Regions from separate parts of the Homo sapiens genome. Here region 2 is linked to region 1. Evidence: promoter capture Hi-C in 16 types of primary human blood cells and fetal thymus (Javierre and others, 2016). All regions are on one chromosome and are shown on one strand. Each heading gives the region's core, a stretch centred on a gene start or on the middle of the fragment in contact. The rest is flanking DNA. Distances are from core to core; before and after follow the strand shown. Region 1 holds the start of NAA15 (N-alpha-acetyltransferase 15, NatA auxiliary subunit). Region 2 overlaps MFSD8 (major facilitator superfamily domain containing 8).

The links. The method cuts DNA at HindIII sites, captures the fragments that hold promoters and counts their contacts. A CHiCAGO score of 5 or more calls a contact.
Region 2: a fragment that was not itself captured here is called in contact with the fragment with the promoter of NAA15 in region 1 in 1 of 17 cell types (naive CD4 T cells); the score reaches 5.5 in naive CD4 T cells.

What each region holds. Positions count from the first base shown.
Region 1 is chr4:139,299,030-139,304,209 of GRCh38, forward strand. It overlaps NAA15 (N-alpha-acetyltransferase 15, NatA auxiliary subunit), which reads left to right and starts at 2,476. Exons shown (of 20, transcript NM_057175.5): 1 at 2,476-2,802. The coding sequence starts at 2,749. It overlaps NDUFC1 (NADH:ubiquinone oxidoreductase subunit C1), which reads right to left and starts at 3,448. Exons shown (of 6, transcript NM_001184989.2): 1 at 3,387-3,448. RefSeq lists enhancers at 1,867-1,986, 2,467-2,526. The HindIII fragment of the contact is 1,328 bases long and covers 2,041-3,368 here.
Region 2 is chr4:127,959,617-127,964,796 of GRCh38, forward strand. The region is part of intron 1 of MFSD8 (major facilitator superfamily domain containing 8); the gene reads right to left. Among named protein-coding and RNA genes, the nearest start is that of MFSD8, 3.0 kb to the right of the region's middle. RefSeq lists silencers at 4,514-4,623, 4,734-4,863, 4,874-4,923. The HindIII fragment of the contact is 1,861 bases long and covers 2,275-4,135 here.

The DNA.
Region 1 (5,180 bases), core at 1,226-3,725:
TGCGATCTTGGCTCACTGCAACCTCCACCTCCCAGGTTCAAGCGATTGTCTTGCCTCAGCCTCCTGGATAGCTGGGGTTACAGGCACGCACCACCACACCCGGCTAATTTTTGTATTTTTAGTAGAGACGGGGTTTCACCATGTTGGTCAGGCTGGTCTTGAACTCCTGACCTTGTGATCCGCCCGCCTCAGCCTCCCAAAGTGCTGGGATTACAGGTGTGAGCCACCAAGCCCAGCCTTTTTTTTTTTTTTAAATAAGATCCAAGTACTTAATAAGATGTAACAGTCTCAATAGAGAACATCTTACATATATGGAGAAATTTCACTCAACATATCCCTTTTGTAGAATTAAAGTTTGCAAGGTAAATGATTTTATTTCTTTCTTTTTGGTTAATATTTTTTAGAGTTAGCATTTGGAACATAGTGACATGCAAGCACATGGGGTAAGATGAATTAACTATCATCAGCAGCAGCAGCGGCAGCATATAGCCTTGGATATGTTAACTTTCTGAAAGCATGGCTGTTACTTACAGTATAACTCAAATGGGATCTCTATTTGTGAAATTGTGGTGATCAGAGTAAATATATATTTTTTTATTCAATTCAGGCTACTGTGTGGTCAGACTGTTATCTGTAGGTGCATTTTAACTAGCAAATGAATCAGTTAAATGTTGAATCAGACTAGTATTTGCCGAGCCTTTAAAATTGCCATTTCTTTGTCATCACCCAAAAAGAATGTAACATTTGCCAAACTCTATTTCTGGCTCATCTAATCAGGTACTCAGGTTCTGGTGGAAGCTACTGATTGTTTCAAAGACCAGAAATTTTCTTCCTCTGAAGGAAAATAGAATATTCTTTACAGGAGAAATTTAGAGAACTATAGCAAATAGTATTGCTGTAGGGATTTTTGGATATGAAGCCAGAAATTTGGATATGAAGCCAGAGATTTGGAAATCCAAGCTAAAACTATCAACTGCATTTAGACTATTTTTTCTGTCTTTCAATAGTTCAGACAGTTGAAAGATCTCTTGGGGCAGTGAATTTTGCAGGTTATTACTAAGTAACAGCTTAAAAATGAATTATAAGCTTGTTCTTAGTTTTATAAAGTTAAGGTTAAAATACTGGCCATATTTCAAACTGAAACATAGTTTCCTGTATATATGATTTTTCTCAAACTTTTGAAGAGAGATCACAGAATTTAAGGAAACTCCAGGATTTGACTGTTAAAAACCTTATTTATGACCCCGGTGAAGGGCGAGGACAATCAATATAGCAGCTACAAAACCCAAGTTTATATTGGGAAACATGTATCTCAACTCACACCTTTCAGGGACAGTTAAGAGAAGTTTGAAAATTAAAATATCTTTGCAAATAAATTTAAAACAGTAAAAAACACGCACATATTGTTTAATAATTCATGATGCAAAGAATGCTACAGAGTGAAATCAGGATTTGGAAAGAGGTAATCAAAAACCAAAGGTTAAAAGTGGCTCATATAACTTGAAAATTTTTAGATCAATGGAATGCCACTTTGAAAAAGTTTTACGGTCAGCTGTTAATGAAATGACTTACATTTTTGGAAGGACTCCTATTCGGTATGTAGTCTGACCTCGCCTACTCGAGTAGTTCCCTCTAGTATCCTTGCCAGTCTTTGGCTTCTAAGATCTGAGAATTTCTGGGGATGGGGAGTTCGAGTCACAATATTAAGAACTAGTTTGAAGCCAGCTCCAGGGTAGTCTGTCTTTAAGTCTCCACTACTCCGCTCCAAGGTGACTCATAAGGTCGGTCCGTCAACTCTGCATTATATGGCCTCAACAACGAAATTAAAACACATACTTTAACCTCCAGAGCCTCCTTTGGCAGTGCAAATATGTCACTTCGGATCTGACTAACTACCTTTCCAGGCTGATCTTAAGCAACATTCACCAAATTACCGATACGACAGCCAGGCCCATTTCATCGGTCAAGCTCTTTCACGATTTCCAGACTCTGTTAAGCCCCTTTCTCCCCAGGGCTGTTAACAAGTCTCCACTGCGGTGAAGCTTTTTTCATTTTCCACTCCGCCTCTGCTCCTTAAATTAGGCATTTCGTCCATAATCAACTACAGCGCTTCTCAAACACCTACACCTGTATTTTAGCACTTTGGGCTCAAACGATGATCACACAGTGTGCGAGACTCTTTCCAAGGAATGAAAGGTCGATCTAGCAGGAAGGCGCCAGAGAGGCTGTTTTTGATGAGGAGGCGGTCTGAACCGTACTTGCCTAGCCTCCCGTAGCTCCGCGGGCGCTTCGAGGGTACCACGCACTGAAATGATGGGCGGGGCCTGCCCCGACCCTCCCGGCCTCCACAGGCAGGCCAGCCTCCAGGTTTCCCGGCAAGCTCCGAAACCCAGAGGAGGTGGGGAAAGGAGGTCACCGCGCCTGCGTGTTAGGAAGCGTGACCCGGGTGGGAAAACCCTCCGCGTCCGCCATTTTGGCTGCCTCTGTCGGTCTGTTCAGTTACCACGTGAACCGCCGACGGAGACCCGTAGTGGGGGAGGCGGCGGCAGCGTTAAGTGAGAAAGGAAAAAAGACAACGAGGAAAAAGGAGGTGTCCGGGTAGGGCAACGCGGCGACACCCGAGGCCTGGTGGTGGCGGCGGATCGAGATATTCAAGGCTGAAGCAGCTACGGAACGGCAGCGGCGGCGGTCGGACAAACTGACTGACCGAGCCGGGTGGTGGCGGGAGCAGCGGGAGCAGCCGGAACGATGCCGGCCGTGAGCCTCCCGCCCAAGGAGAATGCGCTCTTCAAGCGGATCTTGGTAAGTGTGAGGCTCCGGGCAAGCGGTGGGGAGGATTTAGCCGGTAACCGGGCCTGTCACCCCTAACCTCGGCCCGGCGGGCACTGAGCCACTCCCGCCCGGGACCCCGCCTTCATAGCTCTCGTCAGGCCGAATGCATTGCTTTGCTCCCTCTCTGTGGTTCCTACTATGGCCCGCGCGCCAGGGACCACAGGCTTCTTCATTCCATCCCCACGCTTGAGGCCCTGGTTCCGGACTAGGCCCCGACCTCCCGGCTTCTAGACTGCCGGTTCTCATTCTCCCCGATCTGGGGGAGAAGAGGCCCGGCCTTTGGCGGGCAAGTGGGCGACACCGGCAGGAGTCGCGGCCCGGTTGGTGTGGGAACCCTGCTGGCAGGTCGGGGTGGCACCCTTGGAAGGAACAGGTGGTGCGGATGCAGCAGGCTCATTCATTGCCTAAACGCGGTTCTCCCTCCATCATCTGTCCCTCCCTCTTCCTCCTCTCTTGGGATTCACCTGTCTCCGCCCGGCCCGGGGTCACCCAATGACCTGAGAGGAGGGAAAGAAGGAGTTCAGAGAAGGAAAGAAAGCTTTTCAAACGACTACCTCCTTGTAGTCAGTTGCATACTGGAGTCTTCAGCTCCTCTGCCTCCGTTGTTCTCGTTTCTGGAGTAGGGATGAGGCATTTATTTCTTAGTTTCCGAGCGGGAAACAGCCCCACCCCGTCACTCTTCTCGGGAGGTGGGGCCCATTGCGAGGGGGCGGTTCGGTAGGAAGTAAAAAGTTGAGTCTTTAGTTGAAACGTTGCAGACCTAGACTTTTCTTATACACTGAAGTATATTAACACATGCAAAAACTTACCAGAGAAATGAGAATATAAGAACTTTTGAGATGGATTTTGTTGACGCTAGCTCAGACTTATTCCCTACGGTTCAAATGTGTGCAGTTTGTATTTTTTTAAACCATAAATGCATTGATGTTTGCAGGGACTGTTTACATTGTAAAATATGTCCTGTAGCCTTGGAGCTATAATTAACACATTGTAGCACATTTTTTGTTTGGCATTTAGTATGTGGGTTCCCCCTTTCACGCAAACGTTTCCTTATGATAGAATTAACTGTATTTGCCAAATTTAAGACTTTTAAAATTTGGGATGTGTGTGTGAAAGTGTTAGCCTTTTCCCCCGCAGTTATAATTTATTTCACCTGTTTGAAAAGTAGAACAACTCTGGGGATTCAGTTTTTCTAGAAATGAATAATCATCCATTTGAACTAACTTTGATTTTACAAAAGTGTCCATATGCCCTACAGATTTAGTGAATTCATTTTGAAAAACATTAGAAAGTCACATGCAGTGTCGCAAAACTGTTACCTTGAAATTCTTACTGGAATTTTGTTTTGTTTTAAGACTAAGAGTGTAGGTGGAGCTGTAAAATAGTTTTAGGAAAAAAGTTACTTTTAAACCCTTAAAAAGACTAATTGGTGTGCAGGTAGAACTGTAACATAAGTTTAGAATAGCAATTTATCTTTAATCTCTTTTTCACAATTCTTTATTTTGAAAAAAATGAAACTGAAAAGTTGAGAGAACAAGGAACACTCATAAACCTTTACTTATATTTATTTGCCATATATGCTTTCTCTCTCCCTATGTATATGTATATATACATTTGTATAAAAGTAAGTTGTAGATGTAAAATTTATCTCTAGGCTGGGCACGGTGTCTCATGCCTGTAATCCCAGCACTTTGGGAGGCTGAGGCAGATGGATCACTTGAGGTCAGGAGTTCGAGACCAGGCTGGCCAACGTAGTGAAATCCTGTCTCTACTGAAAATACAAAAATTAGTCAGGCATGGTGGTGTTCGCCTGTAGTCCCAGCTACTAGGGTGGCTGAGGCACAAGAATCGCTTGAACCCGGGAGGTGGAGGTTGCAGTTCCAGCCTTGGCAACAGAGGAAGACTGTCTCAAAACAAAAACAAAAAACTTCATCTCTAAATACTTAAGCAAGCATCTCCTAAGAATAAGGACATCGTCTTGTATACTTATAACAATCATTCTCTAATATTGTCTAATATCTGGTTCATATGGAGATTTTCTCAAGTGTTAGCACTTTTTTTTGTTTGTTTGTTTGAGACGGAGTCTCGCTCTGTCGCCCAGGCTGGAATGCAGTGGCGCGATCTCGGCTCACTGCAAGCTCCGCCTCCTGGGTTGACGCCATTCTCCTGCCTTAGCCTCCCAAGTAGCTGGGACTACAGGTGCCCGCCACCACGCCTGGCTAATTTTTTGTATTTTTTAGTAGAGACGGGGTTTCACCATGTTAGCCAGGATGGTCTCAATCTCCTGACCTAGTGATCCGCCCGCCTCGGCCTTCCGAAGTGCTGCTATTACAGGCGTCAGCCACCGC
Region 2 (5,180 bases), core at 1,955-4,454, about 11 Mb before region 1:
GGCAAAAGAGGTGCGTGTGGGTGTGTATGTACCTGCCGAAAGATTTCGGCAGTGTGGAAAAGGCTAACAGTTAGTGACAGGATATACAGGTGTTCGTGATTTTTTCATCTTTTCTATAGATTTAACATTTTTCAAAATAAAAAGATTTACTTTTTCCTTTTTTAATTAAAAAAGTATAACTTCAATGAAAAAAATTATCTTTCTACCTTGTTGGAGACAGTAGAAATATAGGAGAATGCAACTGTCCTTCAATCAAGTGACCATATTTATTACATTTTCTTAGCTTTGATGATTCAGACAAATATGTCACATATCTGATTGAATTTCCAGAGGCTTCTTTCTTGTATGACCGGGTACAAAAAGGAATGCTGCATTTCTAAGATGATTTGCTTAACTTTTAAAATTCCTTTCTATAATCACTGCTGCATTCTGGCATTAGTTCCCCATTTGAGATTTTCCTTCCAGTAAAACTGTAGTACTACAGTTTTATCCTGTTCAACATTTCTATTACAAACTGAAATACTCCAAATGATAGCATGCTTGTCAAACTTGTGACTTAAAAACTAAAAGGAATACACAATATAGTGGAGTGAACTGATCAGCAAAATGAGTTAGATAAAATTTAACAACGGCCAGGCGCAGTGGCTCATGCCTGTAATCCCAGCACTTTGGGAGGCCAAAGCCGGGCAGACTGCTTGAGGTCAGGAGTTCAAGATCAGCCTGGCCAACATGGTGAAACCCTGTCTCTACTAAAAATACAAAAATTAGCCAGGCGTGGTGGTGGATGCCTGTAGCCCCAGCTACTTAGGAGGCTGAGGCAGGAGAATCACTTGAACCTGGGAGGCAGAGGTTGCAGTGAGCAGAGATTGTGCCACTGCACTCCAGCCTGGGCAACAGACAGTCTGTCTCAAAAAAATAAATAAATAAATAAGAGAGAGAAAAGAAAGAAGTGTGTGCTCAGTGACAGAACAGTGTAGTGGTATAACAGTTACAGAAATAAACTGAAAATATTCTATAAAGATATGCCCTATAAGGACAGATGCCCTAATAATACAAATTTTACAGAGACTAGGCTAAGGTTGCAAAAAAATTTTGAAATCATTTGTAACTTGGATCAGTAACGTGAGCTACAAACGGTTTTTACAGATGAATATTTATCAGTTTGATGACAGAAAACACCAACTCTGAAGTGCAATTAAGGAAAATGTCATCCCCTCCCCCACCAAATTCTATCCCTTTCATTAACAAACCTATATTATACTTATTATTATATTTTAAATGTCATTACTAAAAAATTTTGTGGAATTTGTTTTCTGGTTATCTAAACACCTATATAATATCCTTGATTTTTCCCCTTGCCCTAAACAAGCCTAAAATATTTACAATCTGGGACTTTACAGGAAATGTTTTCCAACCCCTGTTGTCTTAAATAAAGCTCCATAGAGGGGGTCAGTGGGGAGCACTGAGGATTCAAGAGGCCAGCTCCACCAGACCAGCAAATAATAATCAACCTTGTTAGTGAGGAAAAGTTGGTGGTGACCTAGACATGTTTGTGCAATATATTCAAAGTGAACAGGTCCTGCCAACTAGTTGTACATAGGTTCACTTTACTAGGGAATATACTTGTTTTTAAAGACATATACTTATTATTTTCAAAATACTCCCTTTTTGTTTTTAAAATGCTAAATCTAGAACCTCAATCAGAGGTATTGATTATTGGCAGGAACACCTAAATCTGGACAGATCCTAATGAGCATCAATCACTTTGATGAAATCAAAGCTAAGAGTATGAAAAAAAATTCTCTTTTGTACAAGGTGACAGAATGTACCAGAAGACCACATTTAAACATAACTCAGGGATCCTGCAATTATCTGGAAAATAGCTAAAAACCAGGACGAAGCAAAAAGAATTCTGAGGCCGGGCACGGTGGCTCACACCTGTAATCCCAGCACTTTGGGAGGCCGAGGCGGGCGGATCACGAGGTCAGGAGATCGAGACCATCCTGGCTAACACGGTGAAACCCCGTCTCTACTAAAAATACAAAAAAAATTAGCCCGGCGTGGTGACGGGCGCCTGTAGTCCCAGCTACTCTACTCGGGAGGCTGAGGCAGAAGAATGGCGTGAACCCGGGAGGCGGAGCTTGCAGTGAGCCGAGATTGCGCCACTGCACTCCAGCCTGGGTGACAGAGCGAGACTCCGTCTCAAAAAAAAAAAAAAAAAAAAAGAATTTCTGAGTTCTGAGAAAACCAAATGTCATGAAGTCCACGCACTCAAGCTTATGCACTTAACTAGTAGGAAAGACATTTAGCTCTCAGTCAGAACTACCAGGTTGTAATGACACACAGTTACATTAAGCATAGATCCAGGGTTATCAAAGCTATAACAAACAAGAAGCCCCAAATTAAAGCTGGTGGAAAGAGTATGGTGACAGCAACAACAATAAAACAACTGTTGCTGCCAGATTTCAAAAACATGATGCAGAACAGTCTGCGAGGAAAACAGTCTGTCAGAAAAACTAAAAAGCAGACGTAAGTACTTAAAAAGTATAGCAACGGGCCTCAGAGCCTATTGAGACATTTGGGACTGTTTGCTTCTACACCAGCACTTTGGGAGGCTGAGGTGGGTGGATCACTTGAGGTCAGGAGTTCCAGATCAGCCTGGCCACCTGGTGAAACCCTGTCTTTACCAAAAATACAAAAATTAGCCGTGTCTGGTGGCCCACGTCTGTTAATCCCAGCTACTCCAGAAGCTGAGGCAGGAGAATCGCTTGAACCTGGGAGGCAGAGGTGGCAGTGAGCCAAAATCGCACCACTGCACTCCAGACTAGCCCACAGAGCAAGACCCCGTCTCAAAAAAAAGTATAGCAGTGTAGAATAAATTGGTATAGAAGCAACAGTCCCAAATGTCTCAATAGGCTCTGAGGACATCACTCTATTAAAATTCATATCAGCATCGATATTCATTTTAATGATCTCAAGATAAAATCAAGTAAAGATAAAACTGCACTCCAGGCTCACCACTGCACTCCAGACTAGGCCACAGAGCAAGACCCCGTCTCAAAAAAAAAGTATAGCAGTGTAAAATAAATTGGTATAGAAGCAAACAGTCCCAAATGTCTCAATAGGCTCTCAGGACATCACTCTACTAAAATTCATATCAGCATCTAAACTCATTTTAATGATCTCAAGATAAAATCAAGTAAAGATAAAACTGCATTGCATAAACTCTGTTTAGTAAATCGAGGACCAGAGAAATACATTTGCCAAAGGGTTTTGAGTTAGAGTGCTCACAAAAGGTTGGTGCTTAAGGGGAACAAATGAGTAAAAATTATTATGGTCATAGACAGCTGAAGTTTAACTGAATTTATTAATTTACCTGAGGTAATTATTATGTATATTTCAAATAAAATAGTAATTCCGTTTTCCTAAAGGTAAAAATACATTAGGTATACATTCCCGAGTCACTGCCCATAAACTAGGATCAGAACAACCAGAATTATAAGGATCAAAATACTGACGTTATTCCTTTAATGCCTTAAAATTAGTCTTTCTTTGTACATTTGGCATAGGACAAAGGCGAGCTCATTTTGGACAGATTTGTTAAACTATCAAGAGGTTGTCAGGCAATTAGGCAGCAGGTCATTACTAAGACCGATACCTTCAAGTATCTATTAAAACCATCATTTTGAAACTGTGAAATCTGGAAAGTGATCAGCTACAAAGGGCCAAATATGGAATGCAGAAGATACAGAATGTGGTGGCTTTGTGTCCGGGATTGGTGGGTTCTTGGTCTCACTGACTTCAAGAATGAAGCTGCGGACCCTCGCGGTGAGTGTTAACAGCTCTTAAGGTGGCACGTCTGGAGTTTGTTCCTTCTGATGCTCAGATGTGTTCAGAGTTTCTTCCTTCTGGTGGGTTCGTGGTCTCGCTGGCTCAAGAGCGAAGCTGCAGACCTTCGTGGTGAGTGTTACAACTCTTAAGGCGGCGCGTCTGGAGTTGTTCGTTCCTCCCCGTGGTCTCGCTGGCTTCAGGAGTGAAACTGCAGACCTTCGCGGTGAGTGTTACGGCTCATAAAAGCCGTATGGTCCCAAAGAGTGAGCAGTAGCAAGATTTATCGCAAAGAGCGAAAAAACAAAGCTTCCACACTGTGGAAAGGGACCTCAGCGGGTTGCCACTACTGGTGGGCAGCCTGCTTTTATTCTCTTATCTGGCCCCACCCACATCCTGCTGATTGGTAGAGCCGAGTAGTCTGTTTTGACAGGGCGCTGATTGGTGCGTTTACAATCCCTGAGCTAGACACAAAGGTTCTCCACGTCCCCACTAGATTAACTAGATACAGAGTGTTGACAGAAAGGTTCTCCAAGGCCCCACCAGAGTAGCTAGATACAGAGTGTCGACTGGTGCATTCACAAACCCTGAGCTAGACACAGGGTGCTGATTGGTGTGTTTACAAACCTTGAGCTAGATACAGAGTGCCGATTGGTGTAGTTACAATCCCTGAGCTAGACATAAACGTTCTCCACGTCTCCACCAGACTCAGGAGCCCAGCTGGCTTCGCCCAGTGGATCCCGCACCGGGGCTGCAGGTGGAGCTGCCTGCCAGTCCCGCGCCGTGCACCCGCACTCCTCAGCCCTTGGGTGGTCGATGGGACTAGGCACCGTGGAGTAGGGAGCGGCGCTCATCGGGGAGGCTCGGGCCGCACAGGAGCCCACGGAGTGGGTGGGAGGCTCAGGCATGGCGGGCTGCAGGTCCCGAGCCCTGCCCCGCGGGAAGGCAGCTAAGGCCCGGCGAGAAATCGAGCGCAGCGCCAGTGGGCTGGCACTGCTGGGGGACCCAGCACACCCTCCGCAGCCGCTGGCCCGGGTGCTAAGCCCCTCATTGCCCGGGGCCGGCAGGGCCGGCCTGCTGCTCCCAGTGCGGGGCCCGCCAAGCCCACGCCCACTCGGAACTCCAGCTGGCCCGCAAGCGCGGCGCGCAGCCCCGGTTCCCGCTCACGCCTCTCCCACCACACCTCCCTGCAAGCTGAGGGAGCCGGCTCCCACCTTGGCCAGCCCAGAAAGGGGCTCCCACAGTGCAGCGGTGGGCTGAAGGGCTCCTCAAGTGCCGCCAAAGTGGGAGCCCAGGCAGAGGAGGCCTGGAGAGCGAGCAAGGGCTGTGAGGACTGCCAGCACGCTGTCACC